Regions from separate parts of the Homo sapiens genome. Here regions 1, 2, 3, 4, 5 and 6 are each linked to region 7. Evidence: promoter capture Hi-C in 16 types of primary human blood cells and fetal thymus (Javierre and others, 2016). All regions are on one chromosome and are shown on one strand. Each heading gives the region's core, a stretch centred on a gene start or on the middle of the fragment in contact. The rest is flanking DNA. Distances are from core to core; before and after follow the strand shown.

What was found. Contacts are between HindIII fragments. The CHiCAGO score rates a contact against its expected background, and 5 or more counts as called.
Region 1: a fragment that was not itself captured here is called in contact with the fragment with the promoter of OTUD6B in region 7 in 2 of 17 cell types (neutrophils and total B cells); the score reaches 7.9 in neutrophils.
Region 2: a fragment that was not itself captured here is called in contact with the fragment with the promoter of OTUD6B in region 7 in 11 of 17 cell types (neutrophils, total B cells, total CD4 T cells and 8 more); the score reaches 11.9 in neutrophils.
Region 3: a fragment that was not itself captured here is called in contact with the fragment with the promoter of OTUD6B in region 7 in 3 of 17 cell types (fetal thymus, neutrophils and monocytes); the score reaches 7.5 in fetal thymus.
Region 4: a fragment that was not itself captured here is called in contact with the fragment with the promoter of OTUD6B in region 7 in 6 of 17 cell types (total CD4 T cells, naive CD8 T cells, neutrophils and 3 more); the score reaches 8.1 in total CD4 T cells.
Region 5: a fragment that was not itself captured here is called in contact with the fragment with the promoter of OTUD6B in region 7 in 1 of 17 cell types (neutrophils); the score reaches 7.8 in neutrophils.
Region 6: a fragment that was not itself captured here is called in contact with the fragment with the promoter of OTUD6B in region 7 in 7 of 17 cell types (neutrophils, naive B cells, activated CD4 T cells and 4 more); the score reaches 9.2 in neutrophils.

Annotation. Positions count from the first base shown.
Region 1 is chr8:89,876,760-89,879,459 of GRCh38, forward strand. No RefSeq gene overlaps it. Among named protein-coding and RNA genes, the nearest start is that of OSGIN2, 24 kb to the right of the region's middle. The HindIII fragment of the contact is 8,683 bases long and covers 1-2,700 here.
Region 2 is chr8:90,015,072-90,017,771 of GRCh38, forward strand. DECR1 (2,4-dienoyl-CoA reductase 1) reads left to right here. Exons shown (of 10, transcript NM_001359.2): 2 at 2,053-2,255. Among named protein-coding and RNA genes, the nearest start is that of DECR1, 15 kb to the left of the region's middle. The HindIII fragment of the contact is 1,413 bases long and covers 681-2,093 here.
Region 3 is chr8:89,949,213-89,951,912 of GRCh38, forward strand. The region is part of intron 11 of NBN (nibrin); the gene reads right to left. Among named protein-coding and RNA genes, the nearest start is that of NBN, 34 kb to the right of the region's middle. The HindIII fragment of the contact is 3,364 bases long and covers 1-2,700 here.
Region 4 is chr8:89,931,322-89,934,138 of GRCh38, forward strand. NBN (nibrin) reads right to left here. Exons shown (of 16, transcript NM_002485.5): 16 at 2,010-2,817. Among named protein-coding and RNA genes, the nearest start is that of OSGIN2, 30 kb to the left of the region's middle. The HindIII fragment of the contact is 3,477 bases long and covers 1-2,817 here.
Region 5 is chr8:89,856,749-89,859,458 of GRCh38, forward strand. No RefSeq gene overlaps it. Among named protein-coding and RNA genes, the nearest start is that of OSGIN2, 44 kb to the right of the region's middle. RefSeq lists a silencer at 1,133-1,427. The HindIII fragment of the contact is 8,587 bases long and covers 1-2,710 here.
Region 6 is chr8:90,033,062-90,035,761 of GRCh38, forward strand. All of the region lies in intron 5 of DECR1 (2,4-dienoyl-CoA reductase 1), which reads left to right. Among named protein-coding and RNA genes, the nearest start is that of DECR1, 33 kb to the left of the region's middle. The HindIII fragment of the contact is 2,032 bases long and covers 372-2,403 here.
Region 7 is chr8:91,068,899-91,071,598 of GRCh38, forward strand. It overlaps OTUD6B (OTU deubiquitinase 6B), which reads left to right and starts at 1,446. Exons shown (of 7, transcript NM_016023.5): 1 at 1,446-1,568; 2 at 2,240-2,391. The coding sequence starts at 1,487. OTUD6B-AS1 (OTUD6B antisense RNA 1) reads right to left here and starts at 1,291. Exons shown (of 3, transcript NR_110438.1): 1 at 1,033-1,291; 2 at 681-924. RefSeq lists an enhancer at 1,494-1,673. The HindIII fragment of the contact is 11,349 bases long and covers 1-2,700 here.

The DNA of each region.
Region 1 (2,700 bases), core at 175-2,674, 1.2 Mb before region 7:
ACACTCAACCCTGCTTTCAGCTGCTTTCACTAAATTACCATAATACCTCTGGGACAACAATCTCAAGATGTAGTTCACTGTTCTAACTTCCACATTATCCAAGGTCTCATTAAGGGTTCATCTAGGGAAGAAGCCTGTGGGACATTTGAGATATCTGGAAGTGGCTAGGTGTCCTTGCTGTAAACCCATCTGTGTCCTAGGGTAGAGCCCTCCCCCATTTCAGTGAGGTGTGAAGAGTCTTTGCAGAGGGCTTTAGGAATGGACTGTTGTGAGCTTTCCTTCTCACTCCCTGTTCCCATCCAGCCCCTTGTGCTCCCATTACCAACCACATTTCTAAATTTTCATTTGGATTGCTTTATTTCTGACCTAGCTTAGCTAGCCATTAAGCTCTGTCTTATTTATATAATTATGAGGTTGATTTTTAAAAAGTATATAAGGGAAATATGAGTCTTAAATTTTTCTTAAAAAAATTTTTTTCTAGCTGTTTGTCCACGTTTCCATGTTTCAATTTTCAGAACAAATTAGTTTTTCTTAAGACATTCTCTGCAGAAAGACAACACTGCATACTCAAATTCTTTTATTTATTTAAAGATTGTGTCATTCCAGATAAAGAACTTGTTTTTCTGGTAAGAAATAACTTACCTTAAATGAATTCCTTATGTCTCTTAAAGCAGGGAGGAGCCTGATCTCTAATATAATCTGTGAATGTAACATCCATTAGAACACAACATGGTTTGCTTTCCACTCTTTCATTTAAAGAGTTTTATATTAGACCTTGGCCGTATATTTGGAGTGGAGGAAGAGAACTGTGATAGAGATATGGCCATGACCATCTAGCTTTCTCAATGGACAACTGGATTTGATACAAAAAGACCTCAACCCTGAGCCAACCCAAACCTGTAGTACACTGCGGGATAAAAACACAGAAAAGAGCCAGGTGCGGTGGCTCACGCCTGTAATCTCAGCACTTTGGGAGGTCGAGGTGGGCGGATCACAAGGTCAAGAGATCGAGACCATCCTGGCCAACATGGTGAAACCCCGTCTCTACTAAAAATACAGAAATACAAAAATTAGCTGGGCGTGGTGATGCGTGCCTGTAGTCCCACCTACTCAGGAGGCTGAGGCAAGAGAACTGCTTGAACCCGGGAGGTGGAGGTTGCAGTGAGCCAAGATCGGGCCACTGCACTCCAGCCGGGACAGAGCAAGACTCCGTCTCAAAAAAGAGAAAACAAGCAAATGAACAAACAAAAAAACCCAAAGAGAAGAGTTCAGAATGGGACTTACCTGGTTTTGATGTTTAAGTTAGTAAATCCCATGTTTTATGCCTAAATGCTCAACAGGAAGGAATATAATTAAATGTTATGATATAAAACAATAGTGTACACTATTAGGAAATTATTAAAATAAGATTTTAAAAGAATATTTAATAAAATCAGAATTTTAAAAGTATGTGTATATATATCTAGTATATGTTTATATCGGTACATATATGTATATTATAGAAGGAAATATACAAAATATTAACAGTTGTTACATTTAGTGGTATGCTTCTTATATCTCTAATTCTCTTTTATTCTTTCTTTCTTTTTTTTTTTTTTTTTAAAGAGTCTTGCTCTGTCACCCAGGCTGGAGTGCAGTTGCACCATCTCAGCTCACTGCAAACTTTGCCTCTTGTATTCAAGAAATTCTTGTGCCTCAGCCTCCTAAGTAACTGGGACTACAGGCGTGCACCACCACGCCTGGCTAATTTTGTATTTTTTGTAGAGATGGAATTTCACCATGTTGGCCAGGCTGCTCTCGAACTCCTGACCTCCAGTGATCCACCCACCCTGGCCTCCCAAAGTGCTGGAATTACAGGTATGAGCCATCACATCTGGACTCATTTTCTTTTCTTTTTTTTTTTTACAGAAATATATACCCTTTTTCTTAATTTTCTGTAATGACCATATATTACTTCTAAAGTAGAAATTTAAATATATTTTAATGGAAGAGGGTTATTAGCTTAAACATGTTTGAAAATTATAGAGAATAAATGTTTTTAAAAACATTCCAGGCTGGGCATGGTAGCTCACGCCTGTAATCCCAGCACTTTGGGAGGCTGAGGTGGGTGGATCACAAGGTCAAGAGACTGAGACCATCCTGGCCAACATGGTGAAACCCTGTCTCTACTAAAAGTACAAAAATTAGCTGGGCGTGGTGGTGCACGCCTATAATCCCAGCTACCTGGGAGGCTGAGGCAGGGGAATTGCTTGAACCTGGGAGGCGGAGGTTGCAGTGAGCGGAGATGGTGCCATAGCACTCCAGCCTGGCAACAGAGTGAGACGCTGTCTAAAAAAAAAAAAAAAAAAAAAAAAAAAAACCACTCCAGATGTTTGATAAACCCACAATGTCTCTTCCTAATAAAATTCATTTTTCAAGAATTGCTAAACTGGCCAGGTCAGTGGCTCACACCTGTAATCCCAATGCTTTGGGAGGCCAAGGCAGGAAGATCATTTGAGGCCAAGTGTTCTAGACCAGCCTGGGTAATGCAGTGAGACTCTGTCTCTACAAACATTTTTAAAAAAAAATTAGCCAGGCATATTGGTGTGTGCCTATAGTCCTAGCTACTCAAGAGGCTGAGGCAGGAGGATCACTTGAGCCTAGGAGTTTGAGGCTACTGTGTAGCCTGGGCAACAGAGTAAGATCCTGTCTCAAAAAAAA
Region 2 (2,700 bases), core at 137-2,636, 1.1 Mb before region 7:
TGTCTTTCAGTAACTTTTTTTCTGCTTGTAAAGATCTAATCATACTTATTGGATAGATTTGGAAAGTACTAAAAACCAATCAAACAAACAAACAAAAAAAAACAAATAATTATCTATAATCTCATCACTTAACCATAACTGTAAAGTAATGGGTGGACTCTGAAGTCAGACAGATACTGGATTTAAGTCTTTATTCCCTATTATTATTTATCTTTAACAGCTAGCTACTTGACCTTTCTGTGCTTCAGTTTTTTTCATCTATAAAATAGAAGTAACAATTGAATTTACCTTATAGAGCTGTTTTGAGGACTGTATGGTAAATATTGAATCTACTACTTACTGTTGTTATTTCCTTCTAGTCTTTTTTTCTAAGCATATATTTTTATTTGTAGTTAAAAACATACTGTATATTTGTTTCTTTTTTTTCATTTAACATCACATTATAAACATTTTCTTGTGCAATTTCCAGGTGATGAACAGCCTCCTTCTAAATCATTGACCACATTTCTTATTCTTTCCTGAGGATAAATTTCAAGATATCCTGAACCAACTGATGACAGCCTATTTAGCTACAGGAATACTCTGGAAGGAAATGGTAGCTTCTGGAGTTTTAACTGGAGTGTTAATCTTGCCACCATGACCTAATGGAATATCACATAACCTCCCTGGTGTGACCATTAAGCTTAGCAGGATCTCAGAGAATAGACAGAGGAATATGCAAGCTGGTTATCAGAGAAGGCTCTGGAGCCTGTCAGTCAGTTTGAACCTTGGTTCTGCAACTTTGGCAATATATATATTTTTTATCACTCTGAGCCCTTTCTGTACAATAGGATAAAACTAATACCTATTTCATGTGGTTGTTTGGAAGATTAAATAGTTTGATATGTAATCCTGGCAGGTGGTAACTACTTAATGAATGTTAGCTCCTATTGTTCATTATATTAGATACCTAAAGTTTGTTTTATGATTAAATGCGAGAGAATGGCAGTGATGTTCGCATGTAATGTGAGTACAAGCTGTTAACATATAAAATAGGGCAATACAAATATTTTTTACTCCGAAATGGATTGATTTTCCTCCCATTTAAAATAAATAACAGAAATATTCTGTTTTATGTTTTGTGGCCAGAAGCTAGCATGGGAAGAGGCATTTGATTTAATAATCCTTATAGAGAATTTTTAACAATTTTCTTCAGTAATTCAAAGGTGGAAAGTGATTTTTGTCCAGATTATTCTTGTTGAAAGACAAAAATGCTTTATGTTAGTTTTTTAAAAATTAAATTTGGTCGGGTGTGGTGGCTCATGCCTGTAATCCCAGCTCTTTGGGAGGCCGAGGTGGGCAGATCATGAGGTCAGGAGATCGAGACCATCCTAGCCAACATGGTGAAACCCTGTCTGTACTAAAAATACAAAAATTTAACGGCGTGGTGGTGTGTGCCTGTAATCCCAGCTACTCTACTCGGGAGGCTGAGGCAGGAGAATCGCTTGAACCTGGGAGGCGGAGGTTGCAGTCAGCCAAGATCATGCCACTGCACTCCAGCCTGGCTACAGAGCGAGACTCCATCTCAAAAAAACAAACAAACAAAACAAAACAAAACAAAACCAAAAACCAAAACAAAACACAACAATTTAATTTAAGCAAAACACCTGCAGCTAATAATGGTAGCATTTGTAGTGCTTACTATGTGCTACACACTGCTCTAGGTGCTTTACCTGTAATAACTCATATAATCCTCACAATGCCATATGAAGAAATTTATTTTATTGTCCCCATTTTGTAGATGAAGGAACTGAGGCACAGAGAGGTCAAATAACCTGCTGAAAGTTACATAGCTTGGGAGAAAATTCTGTGCTATGTAGTCCAGCTCCAGAGCCTGTGCTTTTTAAATCAGAAAACAAAGAATAATAATTAAGTACAATACCAATATGTTTGCAGTGAGTTTGTGTTAATACAAGAATTTGATTACTATTAAATTCAAGAGCATGTTTTAAAAAATTCATCTGTTTTTTGGAAATATATGTATGCAAATTTAAATTCATTTTCCCCTTTTAGTTTTTCAGTTATGGGACAAAAATATTATATCAAAACACTGAAGCTTTGCAATCTAAATTCTTTTCACCTCTTCAAAAAGCGATGCTACCACCTAATAGTTTTCAAGGAAAAGTGGCATTCATTACTGGGGGAGGTACTGGCCTTGGTAAAGGAATGACAACTCTTCTGTCCAGCCTAGGTGCTCAGTGCGTGATAGCCAGCCGGTAAGTCCCTTACATCAAGCCTATTGGCGACGCTTTTGAAGAAACTGTTCTGTGCCATAGTATTGAAAACACTGTTCGCCAGAGTTGTTTGATTAGCATCTTAATCTTATATGAAATACTAGAAATATTATTTAGATTATTTAAATACATCTTTTTGGAAAAAGTTAGGTACTATTTGAGATGAAAGAAACAATGAAAATTGTGGAACTGATGTTTGGGTAAACATCCGCAATTTTCATTATTTTAATTTCTCCAATTCAGTGGTAGAATATTTCTTTTTCTGTACACGAAGATGAAGTTAAAAAGTACGACATGGAGCCAGGTGGGATGGTGTGTGCCTGTAATCCCAGCTACTGGGAAGCTGAGGCAGGAAGATCACTTGAAGCCCAGAATTTGAGACCAGCTGGGCAACATAGTGAGACCTTGTCTCAAAAGAAACATTTTT
Region 3 (2,700 bases), core at 194-2,693, 1.1 Mb before region 7:
GCTATGTGACCTTGGCAAGTTACTTAAAAACTCCCACTATCAGTTTCCACACATGTTCAATAGGATATTAATTGCTGCATTGTAGGGTTGCTGTAAATATAATAAAAGTATCCAATAAGTGGTAGCTATTACTACAGGGTACTGGAAAATGCTGTAGTTTTAAGAATTTACTACTGGGTATTGAAAAAATGCTATATAAAAATGCTTGACTTGAGAAAGGAGAGTACAATGAAGTGAAGAGGAAATATACTATAGACACAGTGGGTGCTGTTAAGGAGAAGAATGTTAAGGATCTTGAGTCAGTTTTGCATTTTATAGAGACTGGGAAACTGAAAGTAAGGCCAAGACTCAGGCACAGCTATCATTCGTATAAGGATAAAGTCCTAGGAGGAATATTAAGCTAATAGTTTTCCATTTCAGCTGACAGGAAATCTTACAGACATGCTATAATCTAAATTTAGATCCAAAAACAGAGAAATGACAGTTCTACCATCAACATCTATTGGAAAGTGCCTTTCTGAAATATAGCTAGGGATTCCAACACCAAAGAGAAGTATCACATTTTTTGCCTTCAAAAAATCGCCAAAAAAATGTTTAAATGAAAGGATTAAGAAGTATTTTTCTCTGACAGTCACTTCTGTAGCTAAAAAAATTAAGCACCAATTCCTTTAATCCATGAGATTAACATGGACTTTCAGACAAATTCTTAAAATAACAAAAATAAAATAATTTAAAACAACCCCACATTGAGTAAGGTTGATGGATTTTATCAATGTCAATTTCCTGGTTGTGATACTGTACTGTAGTTATGCAAGCTGTAACAATCAGGGGAAATTAGATAAAGGGTTCGCTGCATGTGGACAAACAATTGTCTCAAACAGTTTTTAAAAGTAACCTTACATTGAAAACAGAAATACTTTTGTAGCTATTACAGATTCTTACTAAAAATATTATAGTGCTGGAATACAGTGATTTAACTTGTAGTAGTCATCCCTGTGGTATCCCTGAGGAACTGGTTCCATGACTTCCCATGGACACCAAAATCCATGGATGCTCAAGTCCCTGATAAAAAAAAGCATAAATTTTGCATATAACCTAGGCACATCCTCTCATATACTTTAAATCATCTCTAGAATACTTACAATACCTAATACAATGTAAGTGCTACGTAAGTAGTTGTTATATTGCATTGTTTAGGAAATAATAATTTTTAAAAAGTTTGTACATGTACAGACGCATTTTTTTTTTCCCAAATACTTTCAATCACAGGTTGGTAAAATCAGAGGATGTGGGACCCATGGATACAGAGGGCCAACTGTATCTCAATGAGAGATACCGCAATTAAATTGCTATTCTTTCTCCAAAAGCCTACAACAACATATTTTGTACTGTAATTTTCATTTAGAATGTCATGAATTCTCAAACAGTAAAATAAAGGAAAAATGGAATTATGCTATAGAATCATAGGGCAAAATAAAATAATTATATTTCCTCATATCGTTATACCTCATATAAACCTTACATATTAAATGAAAGTTTCTTTCGGTCTATGAAAGACTGTTTGATGGCTCCCATGTCAAGGGTGTATAGTGCTCAGTTCTTGTCTTTCCCTGTCTGTGCTCTAATGCCCAGTGCCCTGAGTGACATAAGCCCTGGGAGAATGTGCAGTGAAAGTAGGTCTTCAGGAAGATTAATTAGCAGTCATCCAGGATGAGCCAAGGAGGGCTGTTACAGACTAAAACCACAACCATTTCCAGATAGATTTGTGGCCACCATAGCAGTAGACTAATCTGGGATGGAATTTAAGGGAAAAAAAGTGGGGTGGGGGTAGCTACTTAAAAAAAATTAAAGTCACTTTGGGAGGCCGAAGTGGGTGGATCACGAGGTCAGGAGATTGAGATCATCCTGGCTAACACAGCGAAACCCCATCTCTACTATAAGTACAAAAAATTAGCCAGGCGTGGTGGCGGGCGCCTGTAGTCCCAGCTACTAGGGATGCTGAGGCAGGAGAATGGCGTGAACCCGGGAGGCGGAGCTTGCAGTGAGCGGAGATCACGCCACTGAACTCCAGCCTGGGTGACAGAGCAAGACTCTGTCTCAAAAAAAAAAAAAAAAAAAAGATTAAAGCATGTACTAGGACAAGAAGACTAAAGAAAATAACATGTCAGAGAAAATCAGAGGAGAAGAGAGCACAGCAAGGGAAATGTATTTCCAAAGGTGTGGCCAAAGTAATGTAAAAAGTGCCTAACTTTCTAAACACTTACATGTAATATTAAGTAACCTGAATACAGATTCTGAAAAGTCTGGAACTAAAGTAACAATGTAAATCCATAATACCAACAGAATAAAGATAGCTTTATAAACATATGTAAATGTATTAAACTTAGCAAATGATGTCTTGGATTTCAACAAATGTCACATTAAACTAATTTACCTAGCTCTCCACCATAGTAGGAATTGCGACAGAAGTGACTTATAGAACATACAAATCTCTTGTTTCACTTAGTGCATCTGTGAAATGAGAGTAGTCTTAAATCCTTCACAATAAAAAAAAAACCTCTGTCTCTGAACTTCTCACTCTGGCTGCAAAATGGAATCCGATAATTCAACATTCATTCTCTCTTTTTTCCTTAAATGCAACTCTTTATCAGGGACAGCAATGTGCCAAGTTTAAAACATTTCCAGACTCTTCTAGATTGA
Region 4 (2,817 bases), core at 87-2,586, 1.1 Mb before region 7:
CCAACAATATGCTTGCCCATAAAACAAGTCTCAAAAAATTTAAAAAGATTAAAATATGACTGAATATGATCTCTGACAACAGTGGAATTTTAGAAATAGTAACATATAGAAATAAATAGCAATTAACTATTGTATCTTTTGGTAGATGGAAAAATTATATTTGGAAATTAGTCCATACATCAGTGAAAAAAAATCACAGGGAAATTAGGACATTTTTTGAGCCAAAAGATCACTCAAGTAACCAAATTTGTCACATGCAGCTAAAGAGGTGTGTTGAGTGAAATTCTAAATACTCATTTTTGAAGCTGGGTTTAAAATCAATGATCTACAAAGGACTAGGGAAAAAGAGCAAATTAAACCCTAAGTAAGCAGAAGCAAGGAAAGTGAAAATCAATGAAATAGAAAAAGGAGAGGCCAGGCACGGTGGTTCATGCCTGTAATCCCAGCTACTCAGGAGCCTGAGGCAGGAGTATCGCTTGAACCTGGGAGGCAGAGGTTGCAGTGAGCCAAGATCGCACCATTTCACTCCAGCCTGGGAGGCAGCGAGACAGAGTCTCAATAAATAAATAAATAAATAAATAAATAATAGAAAAAGGACATACATTAGAGAAAAATCAATGAAATTAAATGTTCTTCAAACAAATTTAATTTATAAACCTCTAGTTAGAGAAGAACCAAAGAACACAAGGTTCAGGTAACAAGAAAGGAAAGGGAGACTCCATGACATATTACAGACATTTTAACGCAAATACTATAAACTTTTATACCAATACATTTCACAACTTACTGGAACATATGAAGTCCTTAAAAGATGCAAACTACTGAAACTACTAGAGGTAGAAAATCTATAGTTCCTTGAGATAAAAAATAAAGACATTTAACATTGTATTGACAGCCACTGTAATAGGTAAGAAAAAGAAAAGACAAAAACAATTGGAAGGAAGAAGTAAAACTGCCTGTATTCACCAATGACATGATTGTGTACTTAAAATCCTAAGGAATCTGCCAAAAAAAAAAAAATTTTGCCAGAATAGGTGAGATTAGCAAGTTCACAGGATCCAAATTCTATACACCAAAAGTAATTGTATTTTCATATAGAATAAATCATTGCAAGATGAACTTTCTGAAAGTATCGTTTACAGTACCAAAAAAATGCTTAGGGACAGATTAAAACAGATGTCTGAGCCTCTACAGTGAAACTACAAAACAATGTGGAAAGAGTAGATCTAAGTAAATGAATAGACATTTTACATGCATGGATTGAAAGACTGAATATTTTTAAGATGTCAGTTCTTCACAAATTGATTTTTAGATTCAGCACAATAATTCTAGCCGATTTTTGGGATAGAAATTGACATGCTCAGAGGACTGATGTATCTGACTTCTAGACTTCCTGCATAGTCCTGACTTACCATTTTTTGACTAGATGGTAGTACAAGAGTGATAGACATTCAGTAGAAAGCCTACTTTGAATTTTGTTCTTTTCCCTGGCTAGTAATGTGCCCATAGAATACTCAATCTTGCAATGCTGGGCAGCAGCAGCAAGCCGTAGCTTCCCGTCAGCCACAGCATCAAGAGGGTAAAAACTGATTCTTGCTCTTTGTGAAGAACACTATTCCTGCTAAACCATCAAGTATTGATGCCCTTAGTGCCTTCAACCAATGCTTCTACTCAAGCCTAATCAGTAGGGAAATTGATAATCCTGTTGCTGTAGTATTCCCCATCATGCCGCAATTTTAGTTCAATGCTTCAAACATTCTTCAGGCCCAGTGCGCTTTCAGCTGTGTATGTTTATAGTGAGTAGCTACACAATCATTCTGTTTTTTGCTTTCAGTTTACTATTCAATAAATTAGATGAAATATTCAGTACTTTACAATAAAATAGCTTTTGTGTTAGATGATTTTGCCCAACTATAGGCTACTGTGTCATGAGTACATTTAAGGTAGGCTAGGCTAAGCTATGACGTAGGTTAAGGTGTATTAAATGCACTTTTGACTTAAATACAGTATTTTCAACTTACATTGCGTTTATTACAATGTAATCCCAACTTAAGGAGCATCTATGCAGCTACAGTAATTCAAGGCAGTATGGTATGAGTGAGTGCAAGGATGGACAAACATTTCAGTGTAACCAAACAGAAAGTCCAGAAACAGATCCACCATTATGGTTAATTGATTTTTTACTAATTGGCAAGGTAATTTAATGAGGAAAGGATAATTCTTTCAATAAACAGTGTTACAATGACTGGATACTTGTATGGGGGAAAAAAAGAACCCTGATCCATAATTCACAACATACATATCAATTCAAGGTAGATCACAAATATAAAAATATAAAGTTTATATAATAGAGCAGAATATCTGAAATCTTGGGGTTAAATTGGAGAGAAAAAATATCAAACAAAAGAAAAAAATAAATTTGACCTTGTCAAAATTTAAAACTTCTATTCATCAAAAGACATAAAGAAAACAGTCAAGCCACAGACTAGGTGTAATATCTCAATACATATATCCGACAAGAGACTTGCATCTAGAATGTATAAAGAATTTCTATGACCCAATTATAGCTATCAGGGATATACAAATTAAAACCAAAATGAAACATCACTACACACCGATTGGAATGGTTAAAAAGGAAAAATACTGACAACACCAATATTTGTAAAGACAGGAGGTACCAGAACTCTCATTCATTATATTCATAAATTGACAAATATAAAAACTGCTATAGTAGGGCAGTCTTCCTTAGAAAGGGATTGTGGGCATGACAGAGAACAATATTAATCTGTCCATTATATTCCTTAACTGTAAAATGGA
Region 5 (2,710 bases), core at 206-2,705, 1.2 Mb before region 7:
ATTTCATCCTCTCAACTAACCTTTTAAAGTAGCTGGACTGGCATTATTTTCATTTTATAGAAGAAGAAACTAAGATTGTAAAAGTAGGATGATGGTGGCAGCCCCAGATCTTCTGTGCAGGTAGGGCGTTGGCATGGCAACCTGGCCACAAAGCTGGAGAACTGGTTTTGTAGACACCATTGCATAGCAGGTACACTATTTCACTCAGATTGGATGGAGCTTGAGGCTGCTGATGGCCTCTCCCAAGGCCCCACAACTCCCAAGGTCCTTGGCCCTATTCCATTAAGAGGCTTACCTAACTTTCTCTCAGTCACTGTGAGGCAGAGTTCGAACCAGAGCCAGAACTCCTAGTCTAGTTCTCTAACCCTTACTGTCTCACACTGACACTACGTTTGTTTTTGGAAATACAATATCTGTCTGAATTTATGCTATCTTTTTAGTTAACACTCTGCCCTTAGTAAATATAGAAAAGTAATGTATTCTTCAAAAGTAAGGTATTTAATCAAGGCTTAGAGAACTTTTTTCCTAGACATTTACTTTGCCTACCCTAGGAGGAGTCACTAATCAATATTATTGTTATTAAAGTAATAGGATTAATACAAGACCCACTTTACTGATCTTTCACTCTGGGCCAGGGAGTATGCTAAACCCTTTACAAACAATATGTCTAATCCTTACATCAGCACAATCAGAAAAATGTCATAGCTTCATTTTAAAGATGAGGGACTGAGACTCAGAGAGACCAAATAACTTAAATTCACATGGCTTCCTAACATCCATAGAGTCATCATTTACAACCAGGTCTCTGGGATTCTAAATTCCTGATATTTCCTCTGTATCACTCCGCCTCCTTGTGTTAGTAGACATTATTCTAATGATCAGAGAGACTGAACTTGTCTTATATATAACATACCTAATACGTAAATGTCTGTCCACTAAACTGCATATTCCTTGAGGACAGCATGTCCTACTCATTTTTGGATTTCGCATACCTAACAAAGTGCGTGGCACACAGCAAATGCTCAATAAGTGTTTAATAAATTAAAAAAAAATTTTGAGTATATAGATATATCTAATATTTCAAACAAAGCGTACTTTAAAACATTTTTAGTTTTTCTCAGTCAATAAAACTCTTGACCAAATAAAATCTCTGTCAAGCTACGGTTTTCACAAAATATAAAACTTTCTTTGTTTCCTAATAGCTGAGCTACAAGTAACTTTCTCACAGTTGGGGAAGGATCATGAGGTCACTCGGTCCACCCTGGAATGGAATGCCCACTTGTTGCTTGTTCAGGGAACTGATGATGCCAACAATTCTTTGTCTTTGGTATAATCAGACTCTGAAGTGGGTCCAGCCCTCTCGGTACAGGCTGCCAATGCAGGCAGCATCACTTCCAGATAATTTCCCTCGGTTCTGCTGACTTGGAAAATCAACTCCCAGTCAGACAGGGTGCCCCTATTCAGATGGGACCAATGTTTCTTAACCTTTCTTTTTAGGGGTTGGGGGGTGCTGGAGGAGATGCATGAAACATTTTGAAATAAAAAAGGATTCATGTGAATCCTGAAGCCAAGGTCAATCAACACTTAAAATAAGATTTAAAAGTAAACTATTTTGCAAAACCAAGCATTTTCTTTTCCCACTTCTAAAATATTTTCTAATGGCAATGATTTGAGTTGGGTAAAGTATAGCTTTCAGTGTTTTATCTAATAGATGGAGAGACATCAGAGTGATTTCTGACACTCCTTATGACCCAAAACATTATTCAGCAGCAGCTTGTCCTGGCTATTTTTTCATTCTACTGTTGGCATTGGCACATCTGGGGAAAGTTCGTATTTCCGTCAAAGAAAAACACAGGTTAAAAGAAAACTACATAGTATAATTTTATTTCCACTGAGTGAGCTTGGCAAGCTATTACAACTTTCACTCTTAAGCTCTATGTATAAGATGTTAGTTATCTAGGGGTTATACTCACTTCTTACACATTTAAAGGCAGCAATACATGCTGAGTTATGGCTATGAAGAATCTCCCTACAGCTATTCTCAGAGTCAAGACAGGGCCCTGACCACTATGTTTACAAGTGTTTTTGACTTTGCAGTATCTGCAACTACAGATGGCACACACAAAGTATCCCCAAACACTTTCTTGGCAAAACCAGTTTGGAAACCTTTATCTTACTCATGAGGCATGTTTCTGTTATGTAATACAGCACGCTGTGAAGAATCACAAGGCCTGGAAGGACTGTACCCTCTCCAGCATTTCTAGATCAGAGGTGAAATAACAAAAGAATATGAATTGATAAGACTATAAAGAGAAAATGTTTTATCAAGCTGTAGTTGAGGGAAATTGCAGTGATCCACCCAAAGGCCTGTTATTTGCTCTGGTAAACATTATCATTTTACTATTTTACAACTGAGGAAGCCAAGTTTGGGAGAATATAACTAACTTTCCCAGTAGCACTGCTAGATAATATGACAAAGGTAAGATGACAAAGTCAAATGATCCCATATTCCAATACCACATGGATTCTGACATCCTTTCCTTAACTGAATACATGTGAAAAATACTATTGTTTAGTTATTTCAGATACTATGGGAGGCAACATTAATGTGAATAATAGAGTGTAAATAAAAGAAACATTTTCTTAAACTTTGATATGTGTTTCCATATCTGTGTTTGAATATGGATGTTGCTAAAACCCTTAAAATTCA
Region 6 (2,700 bases), core at 138-2,637, 1.0 Mb before region 7:
ACAGCTAGTAAATAGTGGAATCAGTTTCTGAGCCCAGGTGTCTATACTATTCCCCTTCTGTTGGTCATTGGAACTAAATTTGTTTAGTGATTCTTTCAATTCATAGTTTGTATTGAAACCAGATTTTAGAACTTTTGAATCTTCTTTTGAAATTAGATCATAATCTTGCACATATCATAGCTTTTTTGATAGATAATATGATTTTTGATGTTCTTTTATTACTATTTTTTTCCATTTCAAAATAACAAAGGATGGACTAACATAATATTTATTTCATTTATTGCTTCCCTTCTCTATTTTCTTAACCTCATTAATAATATAGATTCATTTCTGTTGTCTGCTCTGAGCTGTTAGAAACTTGACTTTTATAAAGCTTTTCCATGAGCAGTTATTCTAACTGAAATAATGGGCCTCTGTACAAGAAGGAAAATATATGTGACTAACCCTGGGGATCTAGGAATTCTTTACTTTGCACTTTAGCACCACTGTTCATTTTTTTGAAGCCGATAATTGTTTCACCTTGCAGCATTAATGCTATTGGAACAGTGCAGTTTCAAACCTTTATCTCCCTTTTACACTCATGAGAATTAAAAGCTGCAGTATATTATTCTAAGAGGTGGGCTACCCAAATTTTCTAGGCTGAGAAAATAAAACCTTAAAGGGATAAAAAGAATAGTAAAATAACTTTCATTTCAGCATCTAAATTGTAGTAGGATGGCTTAACTCCTTTCCCACACTTGGAGAAATGTATTTGTTCAGTCTTAGTTGAAAGATAGTGCACTTTCCATTGGAGCATTTGCTTTGTATTTGCCACTTTTAAAGCAGTTTTTTTTCTTTTGTAATTTTGCTATAAGAATGATACAGTTAGCATCTGTTGTCAATGTACTGTAATGGAGCCCACTAATGTTCTACATCCCTCCTCTTTCATGGAGTACGATTTTGGAAGCAAAGTAATTTTCAGCAATCTGAAAGGCTGTTTGATATATAGAAGGAGTTACCAGAATGATTAACATAACCATTCTTATTTTTTCCTATCCTCAAAATGGTACTCCTGCCCCCTCTTCCACCCCCGTGTTTCCCAGGATGTGCTGAGTTTTCTTTCTACTCTGGAACATGCTGAGAGAAAGAGAAACTAAATATATGGAGCAGAGAAAAAACTTATCTGAATATTCTTCAAAATACTTTCCTTGTAGTCCTTCAAATTTAAATTTCTAAAAGTATTTGCTGTTATGTAAAAGATGTAAACTTATTTTGATCCTTTTGCAAATATTAAGTATTGTCTTATCCCGTGTTATGAATAAATAAGAAGTAGAGAAATCACTGATTTCTCAGGACCTAAAGATTACCCTTTTAAGCCTTTATTTGTTTATTTATTTATTTGTTTGTTTGTTTATTTATTTATTTTTTGAGATGGAGTCTCACTCTTGTCACCCAGACTGGAGTGCACTGGCATCATCTCGGCTCACTGCATCCTCTGCCTCCTGGGTTCAAGTGATTCTCCTGCCTCAGCCTCCTGAGTAGCTGGAATTACAGGCATGCCCTACCACACCTGGCTAATTTTTGTATTTTTAGTACAGGCAGGATTTCACTATGTTGGCCAGGCTGGTCTCGAACTCCTGACCTCAGGTGATTTGCTCCCCTTGGTCTCCCAAAGTGCTGGGATTACAGGCATGAGCCACTGTGCCTGGCCTTATTCAGTTAATTTATTGAGAACCTGCTGTGTCCTAGACACTATTGACCACTGTATATGCAGTATCACTTTGTAATATAGCTTTTATACAATCATTTTAAAAAGAAATTTAGAAAACAAGAAAAAATATTTTATATTTACCTACATATTTACTATTTCTTTCCTTTTGACAATCTCAGTTTCTCTATAATATCATTTTCATATCACCTTGATTTTTGAAGGGTATTTTTGATGGATATGGAATTCAGAGTTAAGTTTTATCTTTCAACACCTTAAAAATATAACTCCATTGTCTTCTAGCTTACATTATTTTTAGAAATGAGAAGACAATGAAAATTTTTGTCTGTGTTTGTGTATTTTTATTGCTTATTTTTACCTTTGGCTGCAATTAGGATTCTATATATCATTGGTTTTCAGTTATTGATTATGATAATGTATTGATTTTTTTCCCTGTTTATCCTGCTTGGGATTCATTTAGCTTTCTGCATTGTAAGTTATAGTTTTTACCAAATTCGGAATTTTTTTAGTCCTTATTCAAGTGCTTTTTCTTCCTCTGTGACTCTAACTATACGTTTGTTAGAATGCTAGATACTGTTCCATAGGTCAGTGAGGTTCTGGGTTTTTCCTCAGTTTTTTTTTTCCCATTTGTCTTTCATTTTGGATAGTTTATATTGCTGTGTCTTCAGATTCATGGATCTTTTCTTCTACAGCTAAGCTTATTTGTTCAATTTTTCCTTTCAGATGCTGTATTTTTCTGCTGTAGAAGCCATATTGGTTTCTATTTTGTATTTTCCATTTTTCTCATCATATAAATATTTTCAGTGAAATCTTTTAAAATATTTGTAATAGCATTTAAAAGGCTGTTTGTCTGCTACATCTGTCTTCTCTGTCATTTCTGGGACTCTTTGTCTATTAATCATTTTTCTCCTTGTTAGGTTTCTGTGTCTTTTTATGTGCAGTAATTTTTTATTGCATGCTGTGAATGTTATGTTGTTGTTCTGTGTTTGTGT
Region 7 (2,700 bases), core at 196-2,695:
TTAAACTTAATGCTCCTTAACTAGTTTTAATGCATACCATCAGTTCTTTCATACAATTGCCTCCCTATTCTTATTTTAATTCAGGTTCTCTGTTAGCTGCAGTAAATCCTTCAGCAAAATTTTCAGGGAAAGTTCTTGGTTGATATACTTTCCTAACCCCTGTATATCTAAGAATGTCTTCCAGTTTCCTTTGTAAAGAAATGATAACTTGGCAGAGTATATAATTCTTGGCTCAAAATTATTTTCCCTTAACACTCTAGATATTGTTCCACTGTCTTCTGGCATTTAGAATTGCAGGAGAAAAATCTGAGGTCAGCCTGACTTTTGCCCCTTTGTAAGTAACCTGCTTTCTCTGACTGGATGCTTGTAAAATGTTTCGTCTTTGAAATTCAAAAACGTCACCCGGATATGTCTAGATGCTGCTTTCTTTTCATTAAACTTTAAAGGTATCCTATGAGCCTTTTCCATTTGTAGATCTAGTTCGTTCTTCAATTCTGGAAAATTTTTTCAAGTAGATCCTTTATTGTTTCAGCTCCACTTGCTCTGTCCTCAGTTTCAGGTATTCCTATTATGCATAGATTGTATCTCCTGGACCGGCCCTCTAGATCTCTCTTTTTCTCCTCTTAATTTCTTTTCCCCTTTTCTCTGTATTCTGTGACAATTTGTCGTTTTGCACTTACTTCAGTAATTCGATTTTGTGGCCAATCCAGCGTGCGCCCTTCTGTTAACTCTCTCAACTTCCTGGTATTTTCCAAGCGCTCTAATAGTACCCTCTTTATCATCGCGCATAGGTGTTTAAGCTCCTGTATTATATGATTCTCAATCCTTCTTATATCTTGTTTCCATCTCTATATCCGTTTCAAGAGGAGGCATTTTCTCGATTATTTAGCGCTGCTCCTTTTTTCTCAGGGGCGGTATTACGACCTTGGAGACAATAAACATAATTTAATTCCACACAGCCCCAAACAGCCCAAAGATTCCCATTGATAATTATCGACGGCTTTATTAAAATGCGTTATTTTTCTTTCTTACCTTTTCAGTTGCTTTTCTTAGAAACAGGGACCAAAATCAAAGATTAAAGAGGTCCTCTGAAGCAGGGAATGAAATAGACGTTGAAAACTATTCCCGTTACGCCATCTCTGCGCGCCTCACGTCAGGGCCAAGAGCCTAGCGCGTAGCTTTATGGCTGACTCGGCTCTGGCGCTCTAGCCAATTCCGAGGCTGCAAACTCCGCTTCTCCGCTCGCAGTCTGGTTCCTCCCCTGCCGCCCCGCCCATCACGGCAGGGTCACGGTAGCGCGCACGCGCAGCACCCCATTTAAGTTTCTCGTCTTTGCAGTGGCTTTGCTTAGATCCGGTGCCGCCTTGAAGGCGGGGCTGGGTCCCAGCCGTAGCCAATGGAGCCCCGGGTGAGGGTTGAGGGGTGGAAGGTGCCTACTAGCCGGTGCAGGTTTCTTCTAGCGCGTGTGCTGGGGTACCTGGTCGTCATGGAGGCGGTATTGACCGAAGAGCTTGATGAGGAAGAGCAGCTGCTGAGAAGGCATCGCAAAGAGAAGAAGGAGTTGCAAGGTGAGGCGGAAGGAAGTGGGAATCTGGAAGCCGCCGCGACTGGGGGAAGGGCGCGTGGCGGGTCGATTCTGGGGAATCTCAAGGCGTGACTTATCTGGATCACCCTAGACTTCCCCTAGTAGCAAGTGGCCTCTTCTCTCTTCACCTACCCCGGCGGCCCTTTAATTCCCCAACCTTCAGAGGCTTCCCCTTCTGAGGCCTGCGGCGTGCCCCCTACCCCGCGCCGCCGCCGGGGTGCAGGTGTCTGAAAATACCTAGAAGCCGCCGTCTTGGTCCGCTCCCAAACCCACGATGCCTCCCTTTTCTATACCTGCCCCAGTTACCGATACTTGTCCCTAATGGGTGTATTTTGAATGGACCCGCCTCAGTTTAGGAGGTTCAGAAAGGATACCGGAAAGATTTAAAACTGGCTACAGTCAGGTTTTTTTCCTTCTCTTATCTCGCCAAACAACCGAAACATATTCAAGATTTTGTTAATGAAGTTTTTTTTTTTTTTGGTCTCAGCTTTATCTGGGATCTTCTCTCTCTGTAGCTGCCTGTTACGTGATGACTCTTTCTTCCATAATTACTTTTTCTGTACCCTTCGCCCGTTACCATCCCCTTATTGGTTCCTGTTTCTCATCTCCTTTTACTCCTGCGTGTCTGACTTAATGATTTTAATGGCTTTTCAGCCAAAATTCAGGGCATGAAGAATGCTGTTCCCAAGAATGACAAGAAGAGGAGGAAGCAACTCACCGAAGATGTGGCCAAGTTGGAAAAAGAAATGGAACAGAAACATAGAGAGGAACTGGAGCAATTGAAGCTGACTACTAAGGAGAATAAGGTATGTGAAATAAATGTTTGTCGTTGCCTACACCATTTGAAAACAGCTGTCCACTTCTGTTAAATGTTAAACTGCTTTTTTTTTTTTTTTTGAGACGGTGTCTCGCTTTGCAAAACACGCTCAATCTTGGCTCACTGCAAGCTCCGCCTCCCGGGTTCAGGCCATTCTCCTGCCTCAGCCTCCCGAGTAGCTGGTACTACGGGCGCCCGCCACTACGCCCGGCTAATTTTTTGTATTTTTAGTAGAGACAGGGTTTCACCATGTTAGCCAAGACGGTGTCGATCTCCTGACCTTGTGATCCACCCGCCT